Linked DNA regions of Homo sapiens: all the other regions are linked to region 1. The links are contacts of gene promoters, found by promoter capture Hi-C in blood cells and fetal thymus (Javierre and others, 2016). All regions are on one chromosome and are shown on one strand. Each heading gives the region's core, a stretch centred on a gene start or on the middle of the fragment in contact. The rest is flanking DNA. Distances are from core to core; before and after follow the strand shown. Region 1 holds the start of IFFO1 (intermediate filament family orphan 1). Region 2 overlaps CD4 (CD4 molecule). Region 3 overlaps PLEKHG6 (pleckstrin homology and RhoGEF domain containing G6). Region 4 has its middle 13 kb from the start of COPS7A. Region 5 holds the start of LTBR (lymphotoxin beta receptor). Region 6 has its middle 6.6 kb from the start of COPS7A. Region 7 has its middle 30 kb from the start of CD27.

Region 1 (2,611 bases), core at 77-2,576:
ATCAGGGAGCCAAAGGTGACTGGGAAGCTAAAGCAACGATCACCTAAATTACAGTCCTCCAAGAAAGTTGCTTTCCTCAGGCAGAATGCCCCTCCCAAGGGCACAGACACACAAACACCGGCTGTGTTATCCCCATCCAAGACTCAGGCCACCCTGAAACCTAAGGACCATCATCAGCCCCTTGGAAGGGCCAAGGGGGTTGAGAAGCAGCAGTTGCCAGAGCAGCCTTTTGAGAAAGCTGCCTTCCAGAAACAGAATGATACCCCCAAGGGGCCTCAGCCTCCCACTGTGTCTCCCATCCGTTCCAGCCGCCCCCCACCAGCAAAGAGGAAGAAATCTCAGTCCAGGGGCAACAGCCAGCTGCTGCTATCTTAGATGGTTGAAAACTAGACGGGTGGCTCACTGCCATTGTCACCAGGTTGGAACTCTTGCCTCTGTGAGGATGCCTTCTCTACTGTGCATACCCATGAAATTTAATACACATTTTAAAACCTCTGGCCACTGAGTATTTTTGAGGGAACTGGGTGCTGCCTTTGCCGCTTTAAGGGTAAAGATGGGAGGTGGGACTGGGATCTTCTGAGGAGAGGGAATGGTTGGGTGCTACTGAGAAATAAGGTCAGTTTTAGGCTCCTGCATCCTTGGGTTTTCCCAGGAAGGGAAAGCCCTGGAGTCAGAGCTAGGGGTGATTGAACTCCGGGGAGAGGAGGGCAATAGAAGTGTAGGGGAAGGCGGGGCACACTAGCTCATGCCTGTAATCCCAGCACTTTCTGGGAGGCCAAGGCGGGTGGATCACCTGAGGTCAGGTGTTCGAGACCAGCCTGGCTAACATGGCGAAACCTCGTCTCTACTAAAAATACAAAAAATCAGCCGGGTGTGGTGGCGGGTGCCTGTAATCCCAGCTACTCGGGAGACTGAAGCAGGAGAATCGCTTGAACCTGGGAGGCTGAGGTTGCAGTGAGCCAAGATCGCGCCACTGCACTCCAGCCCGGGCGACAGTGAGACTCGGTCTCAAAAAAAAAAAAAGTCGTGTAGGGGAGATGGGCTTGCCACCAGAACCCATGGGGTACTGGAGGTCCTGGGCTTTACGCCACCCCGGCTGGAGTCCAGGCGGTGGCTCCCCTCATCACAGGGCTCGGCCTCAGACCCGGAAAGGTCCAGGGTCCGGCCTCCAATTGGAGCCTGTCATTGGCTTCCCCTCGGCCCGCCCCCTGACCTCTGCCCCGCTGCCGAGCCGCCTGATTGGTCGGCTCTGTCCCGCCGGCGCCGCATTGGCTCTTCTGGCTCGCCTTCCATCCCTGCTCCTGCACCGGTCTGCATCTCCCAGCAGAAGGCGCAGCCATGAATCCGTTATTCGGCCCCAACCTCTTCCTCCTGCAGCAGGAGCAGCAGGGCCTGGCCGGGCCACTGGGGGACTCACTGGGAGGCGACCACTTCGCCGGGGGAGGAGACTTGCCCCCGGCGCCTCTCTCGCCGGCCGGCCCTGCTGCCTACTCGCCGCCCGGGCCGGGCCCGGCCCCGCCTGCCGCCATGGCCCTCCGCAATGACCTGGGCTCCAACATCAACGTGCTCAAGACCCTGAACCTCCGGTTCCGCTGCTTCCTGGCCAAGGTGCATGAGCTGGAGCGCCGGAACCGGCTGTTGGAGAAGCAACTGCAGCAAGCGCTGGAGGAGGGTAAGCAGGGCCGGCGGGGCCTGGGTCGTCGCGACCAGGCAGTGCAGACCGGCTTCGTCAGCCCCATCCGGCCCCTGGGGCTGCAGCTGGGCGCCCGGCCGGCCGCTGTCTGCAGCCCTTCGGCGCGCGTGCTGGGCTCGCCCGCGCGCTCCCCGGCCGGCCCCCTCGCGCCCTCCGCGGCCAGCCTCTCGTCGTCCTCCACCTCCACCTCCACCACCTATTCCTCGTCGGCCCGCTTCATGCCCGGCACCATCTGGTCGTTCTCGCACGCCCGCCGGCTCGGGCCGGGACTGGAGCCCACTCTGGTGCAAGGGCCTGGCTTGTCGTGGGTGCACCCGGATGGGGTGGGCGTCCAGATCGACACCATCACGCCCGAGATCCGCGCTCTCTACAACGTGCTGGCCAAAGTGAAGCGGGAGCGGGACGAGTACAAGCGGAGGTAGGGATTGGGAAAGGGGGACAGGTCTCTCTGTGTCATACCACTCACAACGGGCCGCGAGTTGGTGTGGGTTCCGAAGAATCAGGGGTGAAAAGAATGAGAGTAAAGTTTGTGCTGTGTAATGAGGAGCTTGGAAGCAATTGGATGCAGGGAGACTAGAATCCGCAGAGAATGCAGAAGCCCTGCTCGTGACAGGAAGAAGGACGCTGGGAGCGGAACACGGGGGGATTCCTACTTTTCCGGCTTGTCTCTGCCATCCAGGCTTAACTGCGGGTTTTGTGCGGTGTGAAAGGGACTGGGGCTCTGCCCTACCGGTCTCAGCCCTGGGGCAGGTTAGGGATATAAACTTCAAAAGTAGGAGGCAAGGATATAGCGTAAATTTGGGAGACTAAATTGAGTGAAACTGGAAGGGGCTGGTGAGGGAGGGGCTGTACCTTGCAACGAGTGATTCTTTCACACCCCAAGGTTTCCCAAAGAATATTGATGGAAACCAGGTACCT
Region 2 (2,611 bases), core at 77-2,576, 240 kb before region 1:
CTTATGTCTGGAGGCGAGACATCATGGCGGCAATACTGCTCTGTTACTCTTTACTACACTGAGATGTTTGTGTAAAGTTAAACATAAATCTAGCACATCCAGGCACAGCACCTTTCCTTAAACTTATTTATGACACAGAGTCTTTGCTCATATGTTTTTCTGCTGACCCTCTCCTCACCTTCACCCTATAGCCCCACCACATTCCCCTCGCGGAGATAGTAAAGATAGTGATCAATAAATACTGAGGGAACTCAGAGACCAGCACCGGTGCAGGTCCTCACTTGCTGAGCGCCGGTCCCCTGGGCCCACTTTTATTCCTCTATACTTTCTCTGTGTCTTATTTCTTTTCTCAGTCTCTTGTCTCCACCTTGCGAGAAATACCCACAGGTGTGGAGGGGCAGGCCCCCTTCAGAGAGGTCAGGGGAGAAAGAGCAGAGGGCCATTTCTCTGTCCAATATCAGACCAACCCTACAAGGCCTCTGAGTGGGCCAAGCAGAAGGCGTTGGTCCAGGGTTTGGATGAAGGAGAGTTTCCTGTGCGCTTGGCAGACAGGCGAGACTGGGGGTGGTGGGGGCAGGGCAGAGAGGCTCTGAATGGACCATGGGGAATGGACAGCTGTAGATTAGAGGAGCGATTCCCAAAGTCCTGGATCAGTAGCAGCGGCAACATGACCTGGGAACTTGTTAGAAATGCAGATCCTCGGCCCCACCCCAGACCTGCTGAATCAGAAACTGGGGGTGGGTCTAGTCATCTGGGTTTTCACAAATCTCCAGGTAACTGATCACGCTCAAGTTTGAAAACCATAAGTTAGATGGAGAGGAAAGGGGAGAGGTGTCCCCATTCTGAGGTGTGCAAAGGTGGTAGGGATGTGCGAGGAGGCTTCGGAGGAAAGAGAGGGCTCAGGGAGGTGATGGTGGAAGAAGGTATGGGAAAAGCCTTTGAGGCTTGACTGTAAATCTTTTTATTTTTAGTTTAGATCCACTCTGTCACCCAGGCCAGAGTGCAGTGGTTCAATCATAGGTCATTGCAGCCTGGAACTCCTGGGCTCAAGTGATCCTTTCATGACAACACCCAGCTAATTTGTGCAGGCAGTGATTGCAAATATTGACAGGCAGGTCGAAGAGCTGGAGCTTTGTCCTGGAGGTGAGGGGACCCACTGCTGATTTTTTGGTAAAGATGTGGCATGGTCTGTGTGGAGCTTCGGGAAGCTTGATGTGGTAACTGGGGACCAGATGACATGGGACTGGAGCAGTGATTATAGGAAAGGCACCAAGATAGCACCTCAAAGGAAGGCTGGAGCAGGGCTCAAGTGTCTTTGAATCCAGGCCTAGGATATAAAGTGGGCTCAGAGAGGTGACTGCCTGGGGAAGGTGTCACCATGGACCTGGCCCCTGCTGGTGAGACAAGATCTTGCCTCCAGACTTACTCTGTCTTCCAAGCTTGGTCCTTCTTTCCCCCAGTGGCATCTTTGCCGTTGAAGCTTGGTGACGATCTGCCTACTCTGAAGTCCCACAGCACCCCGTTGACATGCTCCTGGGTGTGTTCCACCTTCTACTTTGTGTATAGTGATTTGGTTTCTCAACTCTCCTCCTCTAGCTTGAGCCCCTTGAGGACAGAGATGACAGTCTAGCCAGCTGTGTGGCCACCACAAGCCTGGCAGCAGCTGAGACATAGAGAGAGGACTTGGTATGGCTTTGGCTAACTTAAGCCAAATTGAATTGTATGGAGGAGCGAAAGTCACTGATTTCTTCTTTCTCTATTCACCATATTAATTCTGTTTCTAAAACGGGTCACTGAAATGTATGCACACATCCAGCCCAGCCTGGATGAAGCCCAGTCGCCCCAATCCAAGCTGTTCATCCCCACGGGGCCCTGCCAGCCACTCTCCATCCTGTCTGTGGCTCTCCACCAAGGGGCTGACAGCCACACATGGCTCATAGGCTCTCTTGCCCTCCAGCACCAGTCGGGGCTGGCCAGTGGGAAGTGCCTTTCAGAGATGAGATGGAAGGGTGGGGGAAAGAAGCTGGGATATTTTTCCTACTCTATCCCTGCCCTGGGCATATTTTCTGTCAATAGCTGTGTGTTCATCCTCACCTGCAGCCCTGCCCCTCCACAGCTTCTGTGGGGTGGCCCCTTATCCAGAGTGCAAGCACTCTCTGGGTTCCAGAAACACCATTTTCACTTCTTCAGGACTCTTCCTGCTGTTAATAGTGTCTGTGCTTCAAATTGATTGATTCCCTTAACCTATGTGAATAACCCCCTTTCTACAATCTCTTGAACCATGGGAGGTGGACTGTGTTTCCTGCTGGGCACTAAGACACAATCTGTGGAGAGGAATGGGGCACTCAGAAGGTGTGGGGGCTTGGTCCTCTTACGGTGGTTTAGGAGAAGATAAGAAAAGTGACTCCATCTTTGTTAGCTGCCTCCAGTTACTCCATCTGCCTGGAAGAGGAGGTAGCCAGGGCTTAATACGTGGTAGGTGCTTGAGATAGACAGGTAGGTAGATAGATGGATGGACAGATAGATAGATAGATAAAATAGATTAGATAGACAGATTAGATAGATTAGATGATAGATTGATAGATTAGGTAAATAGATTAGATAAACATAC
Region 3 (2,611 bases), core at 71-2,570, 240 kb after region 1:
CGCGTTTCCAGATGTTTTTTCCACATGACCCCACTTCCCAAGGCCTTTCCCTCCTCTAGAGCAGAATCTGTGTGTGCATTCACGCCGTGGGGACAGACTCACCTTGTGAGTTTCAGGCTCACCTTGTGCCCAGGCACCAGCTCCCTCCAGGACTTCTCGATGGTCAGGCCACTGTCGCCACCCTCTCCTATCTCCCAGTGCCGCCGGTCCTCAGGGGGCAGCCGGGGCATCCCAAACATGCTGAAAGTGTGCAGCCTCACCTCCAGCTCATGGGCCTTGGTGAGTTCCTGGGGGAGCCGAGAAGGGCATCAGCTCTGGTCACATCCTTGGCACCCAGCCACAGGGCCCCGGGAGGGCTGTGTGTGTGTGCATGTGTGTTAAAGTGTGTGCGTGTGTCTGTGTCTGGAATGGGAGATGGCAAGCAGCACTGAGTATGAGTGGGGACATGGAGGCCTAGAGAACAGGGGTCGGCCCCAGCTGGAATTCCAGGGAAAAAGGCATTGCTGGAATGTGGGTGAAGAGGCACCCTGGTCTGTGGAAAGGTCCCTGGAGAGGGGTCTGATCTAGGCTCCCTGACAGGAAAGAGGCCTTCCATGGGTCTCCTGAATCAGAATGAGGTGGGGGAGGGACAGAAACAGACACTTCAGAGGGACCTTCAAGTGAATCAGAACAAGACTTAGAGAACCAGTGGTCTCAGGCACCACTTTGACATTTGCCTATAAAATGGCATTTTTTATGAAGCAGCATGGCTTACATTTTACAGGTTTCTTTTTTTTTTCCTTTTGAGACAGAGTTTTGCTCTTGTCACCCAGGCTGGAGTGCAGTGGCGCAATCTCGGCTCACTGCAACCTCCACCTACCGGGTTCAAGCGATTCTCCTGCTTCAGCCTCCTTAATAGCTGGGACTACAGGTGCCCGCCATGACACCCAGCTAATTTTTTTTTACATTTTTAGCAGAGACGGGGTTTCACCATGTTGGCCAGGCTGGTTTCGAACTCCTGACCTCAGGTGATCCGCCCGTCTTGGCCTCCCAAAGTGCTGGGATTACAGGTGTGAGCCACCACGCCCGGCCCATTTTACAGGTTTCTTTGGTACCAAGAATGTGAGCAATAGACACTCCTGACCCTCACTCACTCCATCTGGATGTGGCTTGGGAGGAGAGGTGAGGCTCACAGTGGCAGTGAAGGATGATGTGGCACTGAGGATAGAGAGAGCATACCTGACTCTCAGCAACTTGGTAATTTGACTTGGTAGTTTTCAAAAACTGAAAGCTCAATATCAATCGTTTATCCACATTTAATCAAAGTGTCTCAAGTCAAAGTCCCTGGTTGCCATGCATGGACCAAAGAGAGATATATCCCTGAGAGGTCCTAGGCAGAGCCATGTCTGACTGGCAGGCAGCAGCCTCCTGGACCTGTGTTCTCAGCTCCCGGAGCTTGCTGGTCATCTGCGGAGCCATCACAATTGGGGCCGTATGTGTGGGGATGGGAGGAGAGGGACCCCCTTACCTTGAGTTTGGGGGAGTGAAGCAGGCCAGCCCCCACATGGCCCCCGTGCCTCTTCTCGGGCTCTGGATCTCGCAGTCTCATGGGTGACAGGCCTCGGGCCTGGCCAGAACCCCTGGCAAAGGGGACATACTGCTGGAGGCGTCGGCGACTGGGATCCTGGGAGAGGAGCAGGGGAAGTTCTGGGGGTGCCTCCCTTTCCCCAGAAACCCCAGAGAGGTAGTAGGGGGGCAGGCTTGGCTCTAGATGTTGTTCCCCCACCCTGGTAAGTCGGGCTGGCTCACTTCTCCCTGCAAACCAGTTTGGTGTGGACTGCTCCTGCCCTGAGTCACAGCGGCCACTGCCGGCAAGGCTAAGCTGAGTGGGCAGAGGCAAGACAGCCTGGCTCCCTGAGTGGGCCTGGGGAAGAAGTGGGGCCTCCTGCCGAGCAGGTGCACAGCACACACATGCCTGGGCTCTGGTGTGTGTGCCCCCACTGCCTCCTGCTCTCCGTACCATGGGGGGTGCATGGACAAGGCGTGGTGCACACAGCATTCTGGTCTCTCGTAACTCTCCTTGTCTATGACCAGCCTCCCTCACACATGGGGACGAGGGCACTCACATGTGCAGCCTTCTCCCCAGGGGCGTGCAGCCTGCATCCCATCCAGCTGGGAGTGGCTGCCCTTCTGTGTGAAAGGCTGAAGCCACAGCCACACAGCTCCTCCCAGGGCAGGCCTGGTCACATTCCTTCATTTGCCTGTGGCCTGAATTACCCCACATACTTTCTAGTCTCCCTTCTCACCCACAGCCTAGGAAAGTCCCATCTCCAAAGGCAAAATTATCGTGCATTGAGGCAGGGGATGTCCCAGCCACAAGCAGAACTGTCCTCAAGGTGGAGGGGAAACCTGCAGGCTGAGGGACAGACCTGGCTTCCACACCCCTCTGCTTGGTTAGGACTGGAGGAGAGCCAGGCAGGTGGAGCCAGGGGTGGAGCCAAGGCAGGCACCCTCCTGTCCCTACCCACCACTGGAGGAGTAGGGACACCCTGAACCTTTGCTCATCTTCATCCTGACTCAGGGAGAGGCAGATCTCAGGAAGGCCTCAAACTCCTGCCAAGCAGAGGCGGGA
Region 4 (2,611 bases), core at 34-2,533, 180 kb before region 1:
TCCTGTTGCCCAGACTAGAATGCAATGGCACAATCTTGGCTCACTGCAACCTCTACCTCCCAGGCTCAAGCAATTCTCCTGCCTTAGCCTCCCAAGTAGCTGGGACTACAGGCACAGGCCACCATGCCCCACTAATTTTTTTTGTATTTTTTATAGCGGCGAAGTTTCACCATGTTGCCTAGGCTAGTCTAGAACTCCTAGGCTGAAGAGATCTGCCCATCTCAGCCTCCCAAAGTGCTGAGATTATAGGTGTGAGTCACCACACCTAGCCTTCTAGGTGAATTTATTTATTTCTTGAGACGGAGTTTCACTCTTCTTGCCCAGGCTGGAGTGCAATGGCGCGATCTCAGCTCACTGCAACCTCTACCTCCAGGTTCAAACAGTTCTCCTGCCTCAGCCTCCCAAGTAGCTGGGATTACAGGCATGCACCACCACGCCCGGCTAATTTTTGTGTTTTTAGTAGAGACAGGGTTTCACCATGTTGGCCAGGCTGGTCTCCAACTCCTGACCTCAAGTGTTCCGCCCGCCTTAGCCTCCCAAAGTGCTGGGATTACAGGCGTGAGCCGCGGTGCATGGCTCTAGGTGAATTTATAATTGTTTTAAAATTATATTTAGAGAATTCCCTCTTGAGACAAACATCAAATTTATGATTTTCTTTCAGCTGTCATAAACATTTTAAAGAACTTAAGAGGAGAAAAATAATCTATTATATTTACCATTGCTGCTGCTCTTCATCCTTAATGTTCCGTGTTTCCTTTGGTGTCATTTCTCTTCTGCCTAAAGAACTTCCTTTAGGATTTTACAGCGGGTTTTCCGGTGACAAATTCTTATTTTCCTTCACCTGAGAATATCTTTATTTCACATTCATTCCTGAGCAATATTTTCACTGGATATAGGATTTTGAGTTAATTCCCTTAAGCCCCTTAAAAGTATCATTCTAGTTCCACCTGACTTTCATAGTTTCTGACGAAAAATGTGCAGTCATTTGAGTCATTTTTATCCTGTGTGAAAAGCACTGTTTTTCTGAATGCTTGTGGGACTTTTTTCTTTGTCTTTAACCTTCGGCAATTTTATTCTGATGTGTCCAGATATGGATTTTTTTTTTTTTTTTTGAGACAGAGTCTAGCTCTATCACTCAGGCTGGAGTGCAGTTGGCTTGATCTCGGTTCACTGCAACTTCCACCTCCCAGGTTCAAGTGATTCTCCTGCCTCAGTCTTCCAAGTAGCTCGGACTACAGGCATGTGCCACCACGCTGGCTATGGACATGGATTTGAGTATATCTTGTTTGCTATCCACCAAACTTTTTGAATCTGTCTTTGTCTTTTGCCAGGTTTGGGAAGTTTTTGTTTTTGTTTTTGTTTTTGAGACAGAGTCTCGCTGTTGTCACCCAGGCTGGGGGAGTGCAATGGCACAATCTCAGCTCACTGTAACCTCCACCTCCCAGGTTGAAGCGATTCTCCTGCCTCAGCCTCCCAAGTAGCTGAGATTACAGGTGCCTGCCACCACGCCTGGCTAATTTTTGTATTTTTAGTAAAGGTGGGGTTTCACCATGTTGGCCAGGCTAGTCTCGAACTCCTGACCTCAGGTGAATGGTCCAGCTCAGCTTCCCAAAGTGCTGGAATTACAGGCGTGAGCCACCACATCCGGCCTAGTTATTGCTATTTTCTGTTTGGTTCTTTATATCTTCCATTTCTTTGCTAAGACTTTCTTTACATTTGTTTCAAAAGCATTCTCCCTTTCTTCTTCCTGCATGGTTAGACTGCTTGCAGCATTTGCTTTAAATTCCAACACTTCTGCCTCCTTGGGGTTGGCTGTCTTTTCCCTGGAGAGTTATTTGTATGCTGAGTCACCTTAAATCATACTCTGGATATTTTGAATATTATGGTTTGAGGCTCTGGGTCTTGTTAAAATCTTAAGGAGCATGTTGAACATGTTGAATGGTAATTTGTTTTAGCAGGTAATCAGGTTCAGGCAGCAAGTTTTGACCTGCCTTTTTGGCACTGTGGTTTCAATGTCGGTTTTATTTTAAAAGTGTTTGCAGTGCTATTTGGATCAGGCCGGCTCGGGTGCCACCCAGTGGCCAGTCAGACCTGGACAGTGATCCATTCTGTAATTCAGTTCACAAAGCCTTAGGTAGGCTGTTCAGGGACAGATCTACGCTTGCACAGCTCAGAGCTTAGCCCAGGAGTTCATAAACTTTTACGGGATTGTTCTCTTGATTTTCCTCCCGTGTCTCTCTGACATTTTTTGGGCCCCTGGGGCTTCCCTCTCCATTCCCATATGATCGTGCCACTGTACTCCAGCCTGGGTGACAGAGCAAGACATGGTCTCAAAAGCAAAATAAAACAAAAAACAAGATGTATTTGCCAATTGACTGATAAATGAACAGTAAGTATAGGATTGTCTATCTTGCCCCATTCCCCAAATTATGCATTTCCTATTGAGGGACAGGCAGCGGGTCACAGAATGAAGCCTTTCTGCCTGCAGGCCTTTATCCCACTATTCTTCCCATCCAAGATGCTCGCCCTCTCTTTCATCAGGCTAATTCCTACTTGGGCTTCTAGTTTCAGTTTAAAGGTCATGTCCTTGGAGGCTTTTCTGACCCCAAGC
Region 5 (2,611 bases), core at 67-2,566, 170 kb after region 1:
CGGTCTCTCTGGCCCCCCATCATCCTGCCAGTGGCCCTCCGGCTCCCTCTCAGTGAGGTAAGGAAAGAGGAGGCCCAGTGGGGAGGGCCAGTCCCATCTCCTCCACGTGATGTCCAGGGTTTCCCACGCTCGTCTCCAGCAGCCAGTTTTCCTGGGGGACAGTGCCCACCTTCCCTCTGAGGCCGCGAGGGGGCTGGAGCCCCCGTGACCCACTTCCGAGGCCCAGGTTCGTCCTGCCATTGCCTCTCACCTGGCGGGCAGCGGGAGCAGCAGATGCGGTGCTGGGGCTCATAGTATTCCTTTTCCTGGTCCCTGCAGGTCTGGTTCTCCGACGCATATGGAGGCACCTTCAAAGGGAGATGGAGAAGAGGAGAGAAGAATTAGTCAGGGGTCAGCTTGGGAGGGCAGAGGGAATGGAGCGACGGCTGCCCAGATCCCTCTTGCCCACCCTCGCCCACTCCTACCAGGCCCCTTCCTCACCGCCTGGGGCTGCGATGCTGCCAGGAGCCCGAAGAGGCCCAGCACCAGAGGCCCCCAGGCCAGGCCGGGGGCAGAGGTGGCCCAAGGCAGGAGCATGGCGGCCACTCGGCCAGGCGGCCAGCAACGTGGGGGCCTGGGAGGAAGGCAGGAGGCCCGACGTCCTGGGCAGCGGTGGCGGCGGCTGCCCGAGCCCAGAGCCTGGGACGGGACTCAGGGCCGATGTGCACCCCAGGGCCGGGAGCGGCCAGGCCGGGCCTCCAGGGCTCCCATGGCGGAGCTCAGGAAGTGGGAGTGGAGCGAGCTGGCCGCGGGGCGGGGACAGGGAGCGCTGGGAGCCAGGCCGGCCTGTCGCAATCGCAGCCCAGGGAAGAGGAACAGGCTTGTCTGCCTCGATGCGGGGCGGGAGGGGCGGCCGGGAAAGCACGTGAGGGCCGCGGGGCCGGAACCGGCCTCCTCCCTTCTTCGGAAGCCCGATCGGGAGAGCGGACTGCGGACAGCCCTGGCCCAGCCGAGGGAAGGGCGGCGGGCCCGGGGTCAGCCCTTGGACAAGCCTCGCAGGGAGAGCAGAGGGAGTTCCAGAGAGCGCAAGGGACAGCTGGGTGCGGGATCTGGAAAGCGAGGGGCCCAGGACGGGCAGTCATGGAGAGGGCAGGGCGCGGGGACTGCAAGGCCGCAGAAGCAGCTCTGAGACCGAGGAGAACCGGCTGGCAGATGCCCGGGTTCCTCCCCCGTTGTCCTGCCCTACTGTGGGAGTTTTTCAGACAAATTACAAGGGACTAGCAAATCAGCCAGCCCCCCACGCTACCAACCCAGCCCAATCCGCACAGGAGTGGGCACAGGTCACCTAGGAGACCCTTGAGAGCTGTGCAGCTTGCCCTGCTCCCTGTCCTCAGGGAACCTCCCTCCCAAAGAGAGGGGGAGGATATGCGGAGGGGAGTCCTGGGGCCAGCAGGCTGGACCTGGGCACTCAGTCCCTCTGCTCTGGCTTCTTTGCCCATGAACCTTCAAACCCCTTAGAACTGGAGAAAGCTGAGAGCCCACGCAGTCCAGCCCCCTCACCTTAAGCATGGAGAGGGAGGCTAAGGGTGATACATAAGGGAACCGGGATTCCAGGGTGGCCTGGTCTCGTTCCTGCCCTGTTTCATCCTCCCATCTCCCTCAACCCAACACCCCACCCACCCGTGGAGTTACTTGCAGCTGCCCCCTTTTACACGTGGTTCTCTGGTCCCCAAGTTTCCGTCTTCCTAACTCCCACCTGTCCTTGAGGCTTCACTGAGGCTCTGGAAGGCAACCTCTGCCCTAGGTTGCACAGTCCCCGTGAAGACTGCCCTCTGTACCTGGCTGTCTTGTTTGCTTCCCACCAGGCTGTGAGTGCCACCATGGCCCAGGCTGAATCTTCAAGTCTGTGTTCCCCATGCTTAGCAGAGTCTGGCACATACCATGTGCCCAATAGGTATTTATGGAATAAATGAGTGATGGCCACATCACAGAGCCAGTCCACCGCAGAGCCAGCTACAATCTGGGTCTCCTGATGTCTAGGTCCCAACTCATTCCAGCAGTCCTGCCAACTCCTTGTGGCTCAGGGATGTCTCCCTTGGGATGAGGGGCTAACCTCTCTTGAGATAGGTCACTTGGGCACTATCCCCCTCCCTGAAGGACTCTGTTCAGCACTCGTCCTTACACTGGTCTGTCTAACTTCAGGTCTGATGTCTGGACAGGTGCAGGTGATGGGAAGTGTGCATGGGGAGGAGAGGTCACAAAAGGGGGAAAGGACCTGCCTAGGCTGTAGGCATTTCACTCTGTGAGGCTCTCTCCCCTCACCTGGTGCAGGCAGCTCACCGTACAGATGGGCCAAAGATGGCTGGAAAGGGCAGAAGTATCAGAACAGCATGCACTGCGCGGGGCTGCTGAGCCTTCCAGGGCCCTAGCGCTGGGGGCTGGGATGAGAGTCCCTGCTGAGCTCTTAAACGCGTAAAGGAATGTGTGTGTAGCGACCCTAGGTCCTTTTTTCTCTCTCTTCTTTTTACTTTTTACTGTGGAAATTCCACATGCAAGATAATATACCAAAAGAGAAAAAGTAATATTGGGAGTCTCCCATATACTCCTTACCCAGCTTCAACTCACTGTCAGT
Region 6 (2,611 bases), core at 57-2,556, 160 kb before region 1:
GTTGCCCGGGCTGGAGTGCAGTGGCACGATCTCGGCTCACTGCAACCTCCGCCTCCCAGGTTGAAGCAATCCTCCTGCCTCAGCCCCCCCAGTAGCTGGGATTACAGGCACCCACCATCACCCCCAGCTAATTTTTGTATTTTTAGTAGAGACGGGGTTTTGCTGTGTTGGTCAGGCTAGTCTCAAACTCCTGACCTCAGGTGATCCACCCACCTCGGCCTCCCAAAGTGCTGGGATTATAGGTGTGAGCCACCATGCCTGGCCAGAAATTTTTTTTTTTTTTTTTGAGATGGAGTTTCACCCTTATTGGCCAGGCTGGAGTAAAAGGGCACGATCTCGGCTCACTGCAACCTCTGCCTCCCAGGTTCAAGTGAGTCTCCTGCCTCAGCCTCCCTAGCTGGGATTACAGGCATGTACCACCATGCCTGGCTAATTTTGTATTTTTAGTAGAGACAGGGTTTCAACATGTTGGTCAGGCTGGTCTGGAACTCCTGACAGGTGATCCACCTGCCTCTGCCTTCCAAAGTGCTGGGATTAGAGGCGTGAACCACTGAGGCCTGCCAAAACATTTTTTATTTTAAAAAAATGACATCATCAAGGCAAGTAGCACCAAACTTTCAAAGTACAGATCATATTAATTTTATACACACTATTGCAGAAAATAGGAAGAGAGAGCACCCCTTAACTTATTCTATGGGGCCAGAATCACCTTGATAACAAAATCAGCAAAGGGCAATAATGTAAAGGGAAATTTTAGTCCCATCTAATCAGGAGGCTGAGGTGGGAGGACCACTCAAGCTAGCAATTCAAGATCAGCCTGGGCAACACAGCAAGACCCTGTCTCAAAAAAAAAAAAAAAAAAAAAAAAAAAGGAAAGAAAAAGAATGAAAGGAAAATTGCCCAGCACAGTGGCTCACACTTGTAATCCCAGCACTTTGGGAGGCCAAGGCAGGGGGATCACCCATCAGGAGTTCGAGACCAGCCTGACCAGCATGTTGAAACTCCATCTCTACTAAAAATATAAAATTAGCCAGGCATGGTGGTGCATGATCACTCCTGATCACGAGGTCAAGAGTTTGAGACCAGCCTAACCAATATTATGAAACCCCCCTATCTCCACTAAAAACGTAAAAATGGCTGGGCGTGGTGGCTCACACCTATAATCCCAACACTTTGGGAGGCCAAGACGGGTGGATCACCTGAGGTCAGGGGTTCCAGACCAGGCTGGCCAACATGGCAAAACCCTGTCTCTACTAAAAATACAAAAACTTAGCCTGGCATGGTGGCACACACCTGTAATCCAGCTACTTGGGAGACTGAGGAAGAATTCCTTGAACCCAGAAAGACAAGGCTGCAGTGAACTGAGATCACACCATTGCAATCCAGCCTAGGCAACAAGAGCAAAACTCCGTCTCAAAGAAAAAAAAAAAAATTAGCCAGGTGTGGTGGTGTGTCCAGAATTGGTGGGTTCTTGGTCTCACTGACTTCAAGAGTAAAGTAGCAGACCCTCGTGGTGAGTGTTATAGCTCTTAAGGTGGTGTCTCTGGAGTCTGTCCCTTCTGATGTTCAGATGCCTTTGGAGTTTTTTCCTTCTGGTGGGTTCATGGTCTCGCTGGCTCAGGAACGAAGCTGCAGATCTTCCCGGAGAGTATTCCAGCTCATAAAAGCACCATGGACTCAAAAAGTGAGCAATAGCAAGATTTATCGCAAAAAGTAAAAAAACAAAGATTCCCCACCGTGTAAGGAGACTAGAGCAGGTTACTAATGCTGGCTGGGGCAGCCTGCTTTTATTCTCTTATCTGGCCCCACCCACATCCTGCTGATTGGTAGAGCCGAGTGGCCTGTTTTGTCAGGGCGCTGATTGGTGCGTTTACAATCCCTGAGCTAGATACAAAGGTTCTCCACGTCCCCATCAGATTAGTTAGATACAGAGTTTCCACACACAGGTTCTCCAAGGCCCCACCAGAGCAGCTAGATACAGAGTGTTGATTGGTGCATTCACAAACCTTGAGTTAAACACAGGGTGCTGATTGGTGTGTTTACAAACCTTGAGCTAGATAGAGTGCCGATTGGTGTATTTACAATCCCTGAGCTAGACATAAAAGTTCTTCACGTCCTCACCAGAGCAGCTAGATACAGAGTGTCGATTGGTGCATTCACAAACCTTGAGCTAAACACAGGGTGCTGATTGGTGTATTTACAATCCCTGAGCTAGATATAAAGACTCTCCACGTCCCCACCAGACTCAGGAGCCCAGCTGGCTTCACCTAGTGGATCCCGCACCGAGACTGCAGGTGGAGCTGCCTGCCAGTCCCGCGCTGTGCGCTCGCATTCCTCAGCCCTTGGGTGGTCGATGGGACTGGGCGCCGTGGACAGGGGGCGGCGCTCGTCGGGGAGGCTCGGGCTGCACAGGAGCCCATGGAGGGGGTGGGAGGCTCAGGCATGGCGGGCTGCAGGTCCCGAGCCCTGCCCCGCGGGAAGGCAGCTAAGGCCCGGCGAGAAATCGAGCGCAGCGCCGGTGGGCTAGCACTGCTGGGGGACTCAGTACACCCTCCGCAGCCACTGGCCCGGGTGCTAAGTCCCCCATTGCCCGGGGCTGGCAGGGCTGGCC
Region 7 (2,611 bases), core at 52-2,551, 140 kb after region 1:
TACACATTGTATCAATGTTTGTTTGTTTCAATAGTCTACAAGCTTCTTGAAGGTAGGAATCATGTCGCAGACATTCCTGTCCCTAGCATGGCACCTGATGCCAGCAGGTGCTTAGTGAACCTATGAGTGAATCTCTTAGAAGGATGAAGGAAAGAACTGATTTCCCTATAAGACTTTAGTGCTGTGAGAATTTTCTGGACTCTCTCGTTTTAATTTTCTGGACTCTCTAATTTTATTTTTATTTTTATTTTTTATGTTTTTGAGACAGAGTCTCTCTGTGCTGTCCAGGCTGGAGTGCAGTGGCACGATCTTGGCTCAGCACAACCTCTGCCTCCCAGGTTCAAGTGATTCTCCCCTCTCAGCCTCCCAAGTAGCTGGAATTACAGGTGTGCACCACCACACCCAGCTAATTTTTTGTATTTTTAGTAAAGACGGGGTTTCGCCATGTTGCCCAGGCTGGTCTTGAATGCCTGAGCTCAGGCAGTCTGCCTGCCTTGGCCTCCCAAAGTGCTATGATTACAGGTGTGAACCACCATGCCTGGCCAATTTTTTTTTTTTTTTTAATTTTTAGTAGAGACAGGGTTTCACCATGTTGGCCAGGCTGGTCTTTAACTCCTGACCTCAAATGATTCACTCGCCTCGACCTCCCAAAGTGCTGGGATTACAGGAGTGAGCCACTGCACCCGGCCTTTCTTGATCTTAATTGATCTAACAGGCAATAGTTTGTTCAAAATAATAATAGCATCGTGTATTTGGTCATATATATATATGTTACACATAAGTAAAATGAATGATGGTAGTAATACAAAGGATGGGGGAAGTAATTAGGATTATTTTGTTATTATAAGGTACTTGCACTACATGTGAAGTAGTATGGTGTTATTTGAAAGCAGACTTGGATTAGTTTTAACTGTATATTGTAAACTCCAGAGCAATCACTAAAATAAAAGAAATGGAAAAAAAACAAGTATAGCTGATATGCTAAGAGCAAGGAGAGAAAATGGAATAATACAAATGCTCACTTAAAATTACAAAAGCCAGAAAAAGAGCGGAAGATAAAAGTAGGAACAAACAAGAGCAACAATGAGAAAACAGTAACAAATATGATAGGTATGAATCCAACTATGTCAATAATCACCTCGAATGTCAGTGGGGTCTGAATGCATCAATTAAAAGACAGAGACTGTCAGAATGAATTTTTAAAAAGCCCCAACTATATGTTGTCTACAATAAACCCATTTTAAATATAAAGGCACATACAGACCAAAAGTGAGTGGATGGAGAAAGATATAGTTAGCATTAATTAAAACATAGTGGGGCTGGGTGCAGTGGCTCACATCTGTAATCCCAACACTTTGGGAGGCTGAGGCGGGTGGATCATGAGGTCAGGAGTTCGAGACCAGCCTGCCCAACATGGTGAAACCCCATCTCTGCTAAAAATACAAAAATTAGCCAGGGCTGGTGGCGTGTGCCTGTAATCCCAGCTTCTTGGGAGGCTGAGGCAGGAGAATTACTTGAATCCGGGAGGCAGAGGTTGCAGTGAGCTGAGATTGCGCCATTGCACTCCAGCTCTGGGAGACAGAGCAAGACTCCATCTTGAAAAAAAAAAAAAAGGAAAAAAAAACAACAGTGGGCGTAGCTATATTAATTTCAGATGGAGCAAATTTCAGAGTAAGCAAAATTATCAGGCAGAAAGAGGGGCATTAGTTTCAGATGGAGCAAACTTCAGAGTAAGCAAAATTATCAGGCAGAAAGAGGGGCATTACATAATGATAAGGGGGTCAATTCTGCAAGAAGACATAATCCTTGCTGTGTTGCACCTAATAACAGAGCATCAAAAATACATGAGGCAAAAATTGTTACAATTGCAAGGAGAAATGATGAATCCACTATTAGAGATGGAGACTTCAACATCCTTCTTCCAGAAATGGACAGATCCAGCAGGCAGAAAATCATTAAGGATGTAGTTGAAATCAGCAACACCATAAATAACTGGATATAATGAACATCTGTAGACTGCTTCACTCAGCAATGCATTCTTCTTACAGTCACATGGAACATTCACCAAGATAGACCACACTGTGGACCATAAAGCACACCTTAACAAATTTAAAAGAGTAGAAATTATGCAATGCCTGCTCTCAAACTACAATGAATTAAAGTAGAAATCAATAACAGAAAGATAGCTGAAAAATCTCAAAATACTTAGAAATTAAACAATGTGATTCAAACAACCCGTGGGTCAAAGAAGAAATCGCAAGAGAAATTTTAAAATATTTTGAACTAATGAAAATGAAAACACAACTTATCAAAATTTGTGGGATACAGCGAAAGTAGTGCTTAGAGGGAAATTTATAGCATTGCATGCATTATAGTAGGAAAGAAGAAAGATTTATTATACAATCAACTACCTTAGAAACTAGAAAAAAAAGAGTAAACTAAATCCAAAGCAAGCAGAAGAGAAGAAATATAACGATTAGAACAGAAAGCAATAAAATTGAGAACAGGAAATGAGTAGAGAAAATCAACAAAACCAACAACTGGTTCTTTGAAAAGCTTAATAAAATTGGTAAGCCTCTAGTGAGACTAACCAAGAAAAAAATCAAGACAG

What was found. The method cuts DNA at HindIII sites, captures the fragments that hold promoters and counts their contacts. A CHiCAGO score of 5 or more calls a contact.
Region 2: a contact is called between a fragment that was not itself captured here and the fragment with the promoter of IFFO1 in region 1, in 14 of 17 cell types (activated CD4 T cells, total CD4 T cells, naive CD8 T cells and 11 more). The highest score is 25.2, in activated CD4 T cells.
Region 3: a fragment that was not itself captured here is called in contact with the fragment with the promoter of IFFO1 in region 1 in 11 of 17 cell types (non-activated CD4 T cells, naive CD8 T cells, activated CD4 T cells and 8 more); the score reaches 13.6 in non-activated CD4 T cells.
Region 4: a contact is called between a fragment that was not itself captured here and the fragment with the promoter of IFFO1 in region 1, in 6 of 17 cell types (non-activated CD4 T cells, activated CD4 T cells, naive CD8 T cells and 3 more). The highest score is 7.5, in non-activated CD4 T cells.
Region 5: a fragment that was not itself captured here is called in contact with the fragment with the promoter of IFFO1 in region 1 in 5 of 17 cell types (activated CD4 T cells, non-activated CD4 T cells, total CD4 T cells and 2 more); the score reaches 8.4 in activated CD4 T cells.
Region 6: a fragment that was not itself captured here is called in contact with the fragment with the promoter of IFFO1 in region 1 in 9 of 17 cell types (erythroblasts, total CD4 T cells, monocytes and 6 more); the score reaches 8.0 in erythroblasts.
Region 7: a contact is called between a fragment that was not itself captured here and the fragment with the promoter of IFFO1 in region 1, in 16 of 17 cell types (activated CD4 T cells, total CD8 T cells, naive CD4 T cells and 13 more). The highest score is 14.1, in activated CD4 T cells.

Annotation. Positions count from the first base shown.
Region 1 is chr12:6,554,757-6,557,367 of GRCh38, reverse strand. IFFO1 (intermediate filament family orphan 1) reads left to right here and starts at 1,326. Exons shown (of 10, transcript NM_001193457.2): 1 at 1,326-2,111. The coding sequence starts at 1,339. NOP2 (NOP2 nucleolar protein) reads left to right here. Exons shown (of 16, transcript NM_001258308.2): 16 at 1-497. The coding sequence ends at 375. RefSeq lists silencers at 1,149-1,308, 1,359-1,598, 1,709-1,888 and an enhancer at 2,349-2,611. The HindIII fragment of the contact is 7,963 bases long and covers 1-2,611 here.
Region 2 is chr12:6,795,203-6,797,813 of GRCh38, reverse strand. All of the region lies in intron 1 of CD4 (CD4 molecule), which reads right to left. Among named protein-coding and RNA genes, the nearest start is that of CD4, 7.0 kb to the right of the region's middle. The HindIII fragment of the contact is 231 bases long and covers 1,211-1,441 here.
Region 3 is chr12:6,312,681-6,315,291 of GRCh38, reverse strand. PLEKHG6 (pleckstrin homology and RhoGEF domain containing G6) reads right to left here. Exons shown (of 16, transcript NM_001384598.1): 3 at 1,508-1,663; 4 at 123-287. Among named protein-coding and RNA genes, the nearest start is that of PLEKHG6, 3.3 kb to the right of the region's middle. RefSeq lists an enhancer at 2,145-2,454. The HindIII fragment of the contact is 4,394 bases long and covers 1-2,611 here.
Region 4 is chr12:6,735,332-6,737,942 of GRCh38, reverse strand. No RefSeq gene overlaps it. Among named protein-coding and RNA genes, the nearest start is that of COPS7A, 13 kb to the right of the region's middle. The HindIII fragment of the contact is 5,757 bases long and covers 1-2,611 here.
Region 5 is chr12:6,382,324-6,384,934 of GRCh38, reverse strand. LTBR (lymphotoxin beta receptor) reads right to left here and starts at 773. Exons shown (of 10, transcript NM_002342.3): 1 at 481-773; 2 at 251-347. The coding sequence starts at 576. RefSeq lists an enhancer at 855-1,720. The HindIII fragment of the contact is 3,962 bases long and covers 1-2,611 here.
Region 6 is chr12:6,716,136-6,718,746 of GRCh38, reverse strand. No RefSeq gene overlaps it. Among named protein-coding and RNA genes, the nearest start is that of COPS7A, 6.6 kb to the left of the region's middle. The HindIII fragment of the contact is 9,962 bases long and covers 1-2,611 here.
Region 7 is chr12:6,414,029-6,416,639 of GRCh38, reverse strand. No RefSeq gene overlaps it. Among named protein-coding and RNA genes, the nearest start is that of CD27, 30 kb to the left of the region's middle. The HindIII fragment of the contact is 2,514 bases long and covers 45-2,558 here.